Linked DNA regions of Homo sapiens: region 2 is linked to region 1. Evidence: promoter capture Hi-C in human tissues and cell types (Jung and others, 2019). All regions are on one chromosome and are shown on one strand. The core of a region is centred on a gene start or on the middle of the fragment in contact, and the rest is flanking DNA. Distances in the headings are between cores, read along the strand shown. Region 1 holds the start of PSMC6 (proteasome 26S subunit, ATPase 6). Region 2 holds the start of LOC105370504 (a long non-coding RNA gene).

What was found. The method cuts DNA at HindIII sites, captures the fragments that hold promoters and counts their contacts. A contact is called where the count stands out against the background at its distance.
Region 2: a contact is called between a fragment that was not itself captured here and the fragment with the promoter of PSMC6 in region 1, in 1 of the 25 tissues and cell types used here (mesenchymal stem cells).

The regions. Positions count from the first base shown.
Region 1 is chr14:52,704,298-52,709,175 of GRCh38, reverse strand. It overlaps PSMC6 (proteasome 26S subunit, ATPase 6), which reads right to left and starts at 1,976. Exons shown (of 14, transcript NM_002806.5): 1 at 1,872-1,976; 2 at 788-867; 3 at 654-693; 4 at 360-412. The coding sequence starts at 1,956. RefSeq lists enhancers at 1,616-1,665, 1,686-1,935, 2,236-2,295, 2,316-2,425. The HindIII fragment of the contact is 7,628 bases long and covers 1-4,878 here.
Region 2 is chr14:53,316,098-53,320,975 of GRCh38, reverse strand. LOC105370504 (a long non-coding RNA gene) reads right to left here and starts at 324. Exons shown (of 4, transcript XR_943876.3): 1 at 1-324. The HindIII fragment of the contact is 3,682 bases long and covers 91-3,772 here.

The DNA of each region.
Region 1 (4,878 bases), core at 727-3,226:
CAGTTCTGAATGTCTAAATATAAACACAGGTAACTGATGATATCTAACACTTTTAAGTCCTCTTTAAAAATGACATTAAAATAAAATGTCTGTTTTCCAGTTCTAAAATACTTTTATTTCTAAGTGGCTATTAACAGATCTGACTGAGACAATGTAATACAGTAGAAAGTACGGAATGCCAGGAGTCAAAGCCCATGGTTTGAATTCAGGCTTTGTTAATAACTAGCTATGTCTGAACAAATCATCCTTGTGAGTTATGGGCATAAATGCTCCACCTGCTTGCCTCAAGAATTAGAGACAATAACTTACATGAAACTGCTTTGTCAATCATCAGGCACTATACAAATATAAAGTATTACCTGTCGACGACAACCCACAACATATCTTGGTCCATTGGTAGCTTTAACAATGACTAGAAGAAAAAACATAAAAGAACTAATTGAAAAATAGAAAGTAAAAAAATACATACCCACGTTGACAGAGGGTTTAGTTGTATTTCTGTCCTCCAAGGAGACATTAGTTGAAGGAAAACTTAAGTCTATTCAAAAATACTCTCTCTCTCTGCATTATTGTCATTAAAATAATAAGCATTTCAAAAGTGAGAGAGAGGTGGACTGTTTCTTTACTAATTAATAAGCTAATTCATCACTCACATTTTTCTTCAGTTAACTGTTTAAGCACTTCACCCACGATCTAAGGAAGAAAATAAAAAGCATTACTTTTTGGCAACAGCTAAATAAAAAAGCAAATTACCATCACCCCCTATTCCCCAAACTCCATCACCTACCTGCCCAACACTCTGTAGGGCCTTCAGATCATTTTCAGACTTTTCATACTGCTTGGTAAGTTCTTTTAATTGTTCCCTTACTGAAATAATACAATTTGAACATTTTTAATTGAACAGTAATCTTAGTGTGTTTAAGTCGCTACGTCTCACTTTACTGTTTACGTAAGTCTACTTCACTTTACCTAAGTTTCACATCCACTGTTTCAAACCATAAAAGAAATAATGCTGTTTGTAATGAGTAGGTGGCATGTATAACAACAAAATGTTACAGAGAAAGCACCATACTTTTACTTTGTTGATCGGCAATACTTGTTTAAGCACATCTTAAGTTATAGTCTTAGAAGATATTGACACCCTGACACTTAGGATTTGCGACTACAAATCCGAATGATAATCACTTAGACCCTTCCTCACCTCTTCACCTACCCACGTGGATTGTTCTCTGACATTCTACCCTAAATAAAGTCAACAAATGCAGTTCTCCACAGAATCATGTAATTATGGTCCTCCATTTAATTAAACTACTCATGCTTTTCAATGAAAATGCACTGGAAAAAAAAGTTAAGCACTCAGGAGGTAAGGGAAATTTGTATGCCTGATACAGTACAACACGAAACACAAGACGATATGGGTTATTATGACAACTGGAACACTTCTCTCTTAAGCTCCGCGGCCGTCTTTCGACTCCAAGAACAAGCCGACTCCCTGAGTCTCATCTCTTGTTTGAGCTTACTTGACTCAAGCGCCTTCCCCTCTCCAAGTCCCGGGACTCCACCAAGACTGCCCTTCTTGCACCCTAACCTGGGAAACATCCTCGGCCCACTTCCCCACTCCTCCTCTACTTCTTTTTCATTTTCACCTCAAGGCCGCCGATGTTCTGTCACCCGGGCTGGACTGGGCCATTTCTACACCCGAAGGAGTGCTGCTCCACAAGCTCAGGGCCGGATGACAAAGCGCCTTGTCCCTGGCCCTAGGCCTGGTCATCTCTAAGGCTCGGTTGCCGGGCTCGGCGAAAGGCTTCTGCTTTGTCAGAGGCAGAAGCGAGTCGAGGCACTTGATTAAATGGAAAGAAAGGTGCACTCACACTCCTTAAGACGGCCGTCGATCTCCTTGTGTTCAAGCAACTTCTTGCGGTAGTCCTGAAGCGCCTTATCTCTAGGGTCCGCCATGATGAGAAGCCGTCTCTCATAGGGGATGCCGGGAATGGCCATGGCCGTCCGGGCGGGGGAAGGGGCGGGGCGAGGGGCGAAACCCTGCCTGGAGGGGTGGGTTCGCCCATGAGCCCTCCCCTTCCGGTTGGCCCCGTCTTTCTACTCCACTTCCACCTCTATGTCTCGGTTCACCTAGAGCGCCGGCATACACTGAAAGAGGCCTCCACCTATACCGTTTCTTGCAAGCCGAGATAGGTAAAGCAGGACTCAGTTATCCCGGTCTTCCCCTGAGAGGCCTCAGTATTAAGTCACTGCTGTCCCGGAAGTATAAAAGGCTCTGTAATAAACTGAGATGGAAGTGAAGTAGGAAATGTGTAATACCTCAAAGGAGTTCCGATGGCCTGTCGACACAACACAGATGGCCTTTGTTATAACACAGTACTGTCCAAGACCTCCACGTGCTGGAGAAGTAGACAGTTTTATTCATCCATTCAGTCAGTGAATGAGGTATTAAAGGTAGATCTGCTTATCATTTGATAGGAAATAATAATAAAAAAAACTTCAGAGTTTAACAAATACTGTGAAGGAATTAAAACACGGTGAGAAGTATGGTGGGAAGAATTAATCTAGAACAGATATCTGAGATGAGAAGGAGCCAGCCTTGCAACAACTGAAGAAAACCTAAACAAACAGTGCAAGTCCTGGAGTGGAGTGGGGTGGGGGTTGTGGGTAGAAAGCTTGACTCACTTCCAGGAACAGAAAGGAGGCCAATGAGACCAGTAGGGGGTGGGTTGTAGAGATGTGGGGTACAAGATAAAGATGCTGAAGTAGGCTGAGGCAGGAACTTTGAAGTCTGATAGAACCTTCAGATTTATGTATTTATTTATTTACTTTTGAGATGGAGTCTTGCTCCTGCCGCACAGGCTGGAGCGGTGACGCGATCTCAGCTCACTGCAACCTCCACCTCCCGGGTTCAAGCAATTCTCCTTCCTCAGCCTCCGGAGTAGCTGGCATTACAGGTGTGCGCCACCACAACCGGCTAATTTTTGTATTTTTAGTAGAGACGGGGTTTCGCCATGTTGGCCATGCTGGTCTCGAACTGCTGACTTCAGGTGATCCACCCTCCTCAGCCTCCCAAAGTGCTAGGATTACAGGTGTGAGGCACTGCGCCCGGCCAGATTTTTTTTTTTTTTTTTTTTTTTTTGAGTCTGTGTCTCACTCTGTCACCCAGGCTGCAGTGTAGTGGTGCGATCTTGGCTCACTGCAACCTCTGCCTCCCGGGTTCAAGCGATTGTCGTGCCTCACCCTCCTGAGAAGCTGGGATTACAGGCGCCCGCCACCACGCCCGGCTCATTTTTGTATTTTCAGTAGGAATGGGGTTTCACCATGTTGGCCAGGCTGGTCTCCAACTACTGACCTCAAGTGATCCGCCCGCCTCAGCCTCCCAAAGTGTTGGGATTACAGGCGTGAGCCACGACGCCTGGCCAACTTTCAGATTTTTGTGATTTGGGGAAAATTACATACTCCCTCAATATCTCTGTAAAATGATCATAATAATTGCACTTATCTAATGGGGTTGTCATGAGTATTAAATAGGATAATGTGCCTAAACACAACATCTGCCACATGGCATGTACTCAATAGTGTTCTTTTGAATAGATATTTATTTTAAGGGTAGTAATGACTCCAATTTTTGCATTACAGGTCCTCATTGCTATACCTCTTGCTATCATTGTTCCTGGGGACAATTAATTGTTGTCCAAAAAACATGAGTAAAATTCTCCAAATAGATTCCATTTGGTCTCACCTTATCCAATGGCCATGAATGTTTGAGTTTAAATATATACATCCTAAATATACAAATAAAGTACAAATTTTTGTAAATTAATGACCCAAAGTCACATAAAGGATGCCTTCAAATTTATTAGGAACAATTCTCATGGGTATTGTGTGAATATTCCATTCTATTTTTCTTTTTTTTTTTTTTTTTTTTTTTTTTTTTTGAGTTGGAGTCTTGCTCTGTCGCCAGGCTGGAGTGCAGTGGCGCGATCTCGGCTCACTGCAACCTCCACCTCCCGGGTTCAAGTGATTCTCCTGCCTCAGCCTCCCGAACAGCTGGGATTACAGGCGCACACCACCACGCCCAGCTAATTTTTGTATTTTTAGTAGAGACAGGGTTTCACCATGTTGGTCAGGCTGGTCTCGATCTCCTGACCTCGTGATCCGCCCGCCTCGGCCTCCCAAAGTGCTGGGATTACAGGCATGAGCCACCGCGTTCGGCCAATTTTTCTAAATGTGACTGGGTTCTTGCAGTATACAATGAACAAGGAAGCTGTATGGGGCAGGGATAGTCCCTTCTCCCACTCAGTTGCAACTACTCTGGTCAAACTAGTCCATCCATACCAAAACATGTCACCTCTGACATCAAGAAGTAAAGAAGAGAGGACAAGGCAGAGAAAGAAAGCTCAGTATGGCTCAATTTAAAATATTTATGAGCACATACTGATAGGTTATTTTAACATTAATCACATCAATATTTTAAAGTCCCTTAACCCTTGTTCTTTTTCTTTTACCCATCTGGCAGCATTTCAACTTCAGAAGAATCTTCTATTTTCCCCATGCCTACACTAGCCCTGTTACTTTTTTGTTTGTTTGTTTGTTTTTTGTTTTGAGCAGGAGTCTCGCTCTGTCGCCCAGGCTGGAGTGCAGTGGTGCGATCTCGGCTTGCTGCAACCTCCGCCTCCCGGGATCAAGGGATTCTCCTGCTTCAGCTTCCAGAGTAGCTGGGACTACAGGTATGCGCCACCACACCCGACTAATTTTTGTATTTTTGGTAGAGATGGGGTTTCACCATGTTGGTCAGGCTGGTCTTAAATTCCTGAGCTCAGGTGATCCACCCGCCTTAGCCTCCCAAAGTGCTGGGATTACAGGTGTGAGCCA
Region 2 (4,878 bases), core at 682-3,181, 610 kb before region 1:
TATGCCTTCACTTCATTATTTACCCAGTAGTCATTCAGGAGCAGGTTGTTCAGTTACCATGTAGTTGAGCGGTTTTGAGTGAGTTTCTTAATCCTGAGTTCTAGTTTGATTGCACTGTGGTCTGAGAGACAGTTTGCTATAATTTCTGTTCTTTTACATTTGCTGAGGAGTGCTTTACTTACAACTATGTGGTCAGTTTTGGAGTAGGTGTGGTGTGGTGCTGAAAAGAATGTATATTCTGTTGATTTGGGGTGGAGAGTTCTGTAGATGTCTATTAGGTCTGCTTGGTGCAGAGCTGAGTTCAATTCCTGGATATCCCTGTTAACTTTCTGTCTCGTTGACCTGTCTAATGTTGACAGTGGGGTGTTAAAGTCTCCCATTATTATTGTGTGATAATAATCACTTATTATCCTTAGGTCCTTAGTCCTTAGGTCACTAAGGACTTGCTTTATGAATCTGGGTGCTCCTGTATTGGGTGCATATATATTTAGGATAGTTAGCTCTTCTTGTTGAATTGATCCCTTTACCATTATGTAATGGCCTTCTTTGTCTCTTTTGATCTTTGTTGGTTTAAAGTCTGTTTTATCAGAGTCTAGGATTGCAACCCCTGCCTTTTTTTGTTTTCCATTTGCTTGGTAGATCTTCCTCCATCCTTTTATTTTGAGCCTATGTGTGTCTGTGCACGTGAGATGGGTCTCCTGAATACAGCACACTGATGGGTCTTGACTCTTTATCCAATTTGCCAGTCTGTGTCTTTTAATTGGAGCATTTAGCCCATTTACATTTAAAGTTAATATTGTTATTATGTGTGAATTTGATCCTGTCATTATGATGTTAGCTGGTTATTTTGCTCATTAGTTGATGCAGTCTCTTCCTAGCCTCGATGGTCTTTACAATTTGGCATGTTTTTGCAGTGGCTGGTACCGGTTATTCCTTTCCATGTTTAGTGCTTCCTTCATGAGCTCTTTTAGGGTAGGCCTGGTGGTGACAAAATCTCTCAGCATTTGCTTGTCTGTAAAGGATTTTATTTCTCCTTCACTTATGAAGCTTAGTTTGGCTGGATATGAAATTCTGGGTTGAAAATTCTTTTCTTTAAGAATGTTGAATATTGGTCCCCACTCTCTTCTGGCTTGTAGAGTTTCTGCTGAGAGATCAGCTGTTAGTCTGATGGGCTTCCCTTTGTGGGTAACCCGACCTTTCTCTCTGGCTGCCCTTAACATTTTTTCCTTCATTTCAACTTTGGTGAATCTGACAATTATGTGTCTTGGAGTTGCTCTTCTCGAGGAGCTTCTTTGTGGCATTCTCTGTATTTCCTGAATTTGAATGTTGGCCTGCCTTGCTAGATTGGGGAAGTTCTCCTGGATAATATCCTTCAGAGTGTTTTCCAACCTGGTTCCATTCTCCCAGTCACTTTCAGGTACACTAATCAAATGTAGATTTGGTCTTTTCACATAGTCCCATATTTCTTGGAGGCTTTGCTCGTTTCTTTTTATTCTTTTTTCTCTAAACTTCTCTTCTCACTTCACTTCATTCATTTCGTCTTCCATCACTGATAACCTTTCTTCCAGTTGATCGAATTGGCTACTGAGGCTTCTGCATTTGTCAAATAGCTCTCGTGCCTTGGTTTTCAGCTCCATCAGGTCATTTAAGGACTTCTCTGCATTGGTTATTCTAGTTATCCATTTGTCTAATTTTTTTTCAAAGCTTTTAACTTCTTTGCCATTGGTTCGAATTTCCTCCTGTAGCTCGGAGTAGTTTGATCATCTGAAGCCTTCTTTTCTCAACTCGTCAAAGTCATTCTCCGTCCAGCTTTGTTCCGTTGCTGGTGAAGAGTTGCATTCCTTTGGAGGAGGAGAGGCGCTCTGATTTTTAGAGTTTCCAGTTTTTCTGCTCTGTTTTTTTCCCATCTTTGTGGTTTTATCTACCTTTGTTCTTCGATGATGGTGACGTACAGATGGGTTTTTGGGGTGGATGTCCTTTCTGTTTGTTAGTTTTCCTTCTAACAGACAGGACCCTCAGCTGCAGGTCTGTTGGAGTTTGCCGGAGGTCCACTCCAGACCCTGTTTGCCTGGATATCAGCAGTTGAGGCTGCAGAACAGCGAATATTGGTGAACAGCAAATGCTGCTGCCTGATCGTTCCTCTGGAAGTTTTGTCTCAGAGGAGTACCCGGCCGTGTGAGGTGTCAGTCTGCCCCTACTGGGGGATGCCTCCCAGTTAGGCTACCCAGGGGTCAGGGACCCACTTGAGGAGGCACTCTGTCCATTCTCAGATCTCCAGCTGCATGCTGGGAGAACCACTGCTGTCTTCCAAGCTGTCAGGCAGGGACATTTAAGTCTGCAGAGGTTTCTGCTGCCTTTTGTTTGGCTATGCCCTGCCCCCAGAGGTGGAGTCTACAGAGGCAGGCAGGCCTCCTTGAGATGCGGTGGGCTCCACCCAGTTTGAGCTTCCCGGCAGGTTTGTTTACCTACTCACGCCTCAGCAATGGCAGATGCCCCTCCCCCAGCCTGGCTGCTGCCTTTCAATTTGATCTCAGACTGCTGTGCTAGCAATGAGCAAGGGTCCGTGGGCGTAGGACCCTCCGAGCCAGGCACGGGATATAATCTCCTGGTGTGCCATTTGCTATGACCATCAGAAAAGCGCAGTATTAGGGTGGGAGTGACCCGATTTTCCAGGTGCCATCTGTCACCCCTTTCCTTGGCTAGGAAAGGGAATTCCCTGACCCCTTGCGCTTCCTGGGTGAGGTGATGCCTTGCCCTACTTCGGCTCACGCTCGGTGCGCTGCACCCACTGTCCTGCACCCACTGTCTGACAATCCCCAATAAGATGAACCCAGTACCTGAGTTGGAAATGCAGAAATCATTCGTCTTCTGCATCACTCATGCTGGGAGCTGTAGACTGGAGCTGTTCCTATTTGGCCATCTTGGAACCACCCTCCAGTAGTTTTCTTGAAGAGAAAAAATAATGTAGCTGTTACATGCATGGAGGTTAGAGTCAGATATCCTGGGTTCCAATCCCCGTTTGGTCCTAACTGTGCCTTGGACATTTTCTAAAGGATCAGTGTATCTAGCCATTCCCAGGCTTTCTGAGATTTGGTTTCACCAGTAAAATGCAGAAAATGTTTACATGTTTCAGTTAATATGCCTTTGGTAATAGAACGCAAGACCCAAATGAATAAGGGAATTTAATGTCTCATAAAACTGAAAAGCCCAATAGTAGGGAAATCTTCAGTGGCTCAGCAATCTCACTAAATACCCAGCCTCTTTCCATTGTCTGCTCTGCTCTTGGGAACATCCACACACCCCAAGGCTGGCTGTACTGTGATGGAAAAGGTGGCTGCCAGAAGCTTCTGGACTTTCATATTTCCCCATTCATATTCAATAAACAGGAGTGTCTTCCCTAACCATCTAACAAAAATCCTGGACCTCCCTTTAATTGGGTCATCTTTGTTCACCTGTTGGCAAGAGAAATGGGATCTGGGAATTAGAACAAACTGCAATAGGAGAGGGGCAGAATGGATACTAGGGAGGCAACCACAATCCTCAAATCCTTCATATCATCTCCTAGAGTCAATCTGAGGACTGAATGTACATAAAGTGCTAATAAACACCTGGCAGATGTGTCAAATACTTGTGTGTGTGACAGTGTGTGTGTCAAGAGATATAGAGATAAAGAGCTTGAGACAGAGGTACAATTTCCAATTTAAGACCTATACAAGAGGGGGATTTTCAAGAAGATAGAGGATAGGAGAAAGGGCTAACATGTAGCTCCCATTTGGATGGACAGAACGGCATGAAGAGACTCACACCATGGACTTTTGCTCCAAGAACCACCACAGGAACGTACCAGGAAAACCGAAAGAGTTCACACATCCTTTGAAAGAAGCAGCACACCACTGAAAATTCCACAAGACAGATGAAAAACTGTGAGTTTCCAAAGTGTGAGAAGGGAAAAATCTGCCTCTGAACACACACCCCCACTGGGGAACCTGAAAATCCAGATTACGGGAGAAGGATTTAACCTTACCTGGAGCTGAAATGGATTTAGTGTGAAATATAAAAGTAGAAGCAGCAGCGGGAAGAGTCTTATAGGCACTCCAGTCTCCAGCTCGAGCCCAGGGAAGCCATCCCTGGCTCTATCTCACAGGGGCCGTCAGGGAAGGCAGCCAGTGGAATTTGGGAGGGGTCACAGGGTGAAACAAGCTTCCAACTGAACTTTGTAATAATTTCAACTGGGCATGAACTCTCTTGAGCAGAATCCAAGGAGCAAATGGGAACTGCTGCACAGAGGAACAATGGAGCTGTGGCCAACAATGTGGGCTGACGAGGAGGAGCAAGGCCTGAAAGCTGTGCTTGCTTTGTCAGCGAAGAAGTTTGTGCCTGGGGCAAGGTCTGAGCCCAGAATGCAGGCTGCCCAGAGATAAACTGTTACTTGGGCACTGCAGGAGCAAGACTGGCCTCACTGACTGCATGGGAGTTGGAGGAGGCCTGTTGCTACCAGCTTTCCCCCATATCCCTGGCAAAAGAGACAGCCATAATCCCCTCTGGAACATAACCCCTGAGAACCAGTCCCCAACCCCCACAGTGGCCATGGTAAGCCCTAACCAAGAAGAGTCTGAGCTCAGACTCACCTAACCCTTCCCTCACCTGATGGTATTTCTCTATCCACCCTGGTAGCTGATCACAAAAAACATAAACTCTTGGGAACTTTATGGCCCTGCCCATAACCCAAATACTAATCCTGGCCAACTTAGGGTGAGCTTATGTCTCTCTTCTACTATTACAGCTGGTGCTCTCTTGAAAGCACCACCTCCTGGCTGAAGGCCAACCAACTCAGGACATTACAGCCACCTCCACTAGAGCAAGTCTTGGTATCTATGT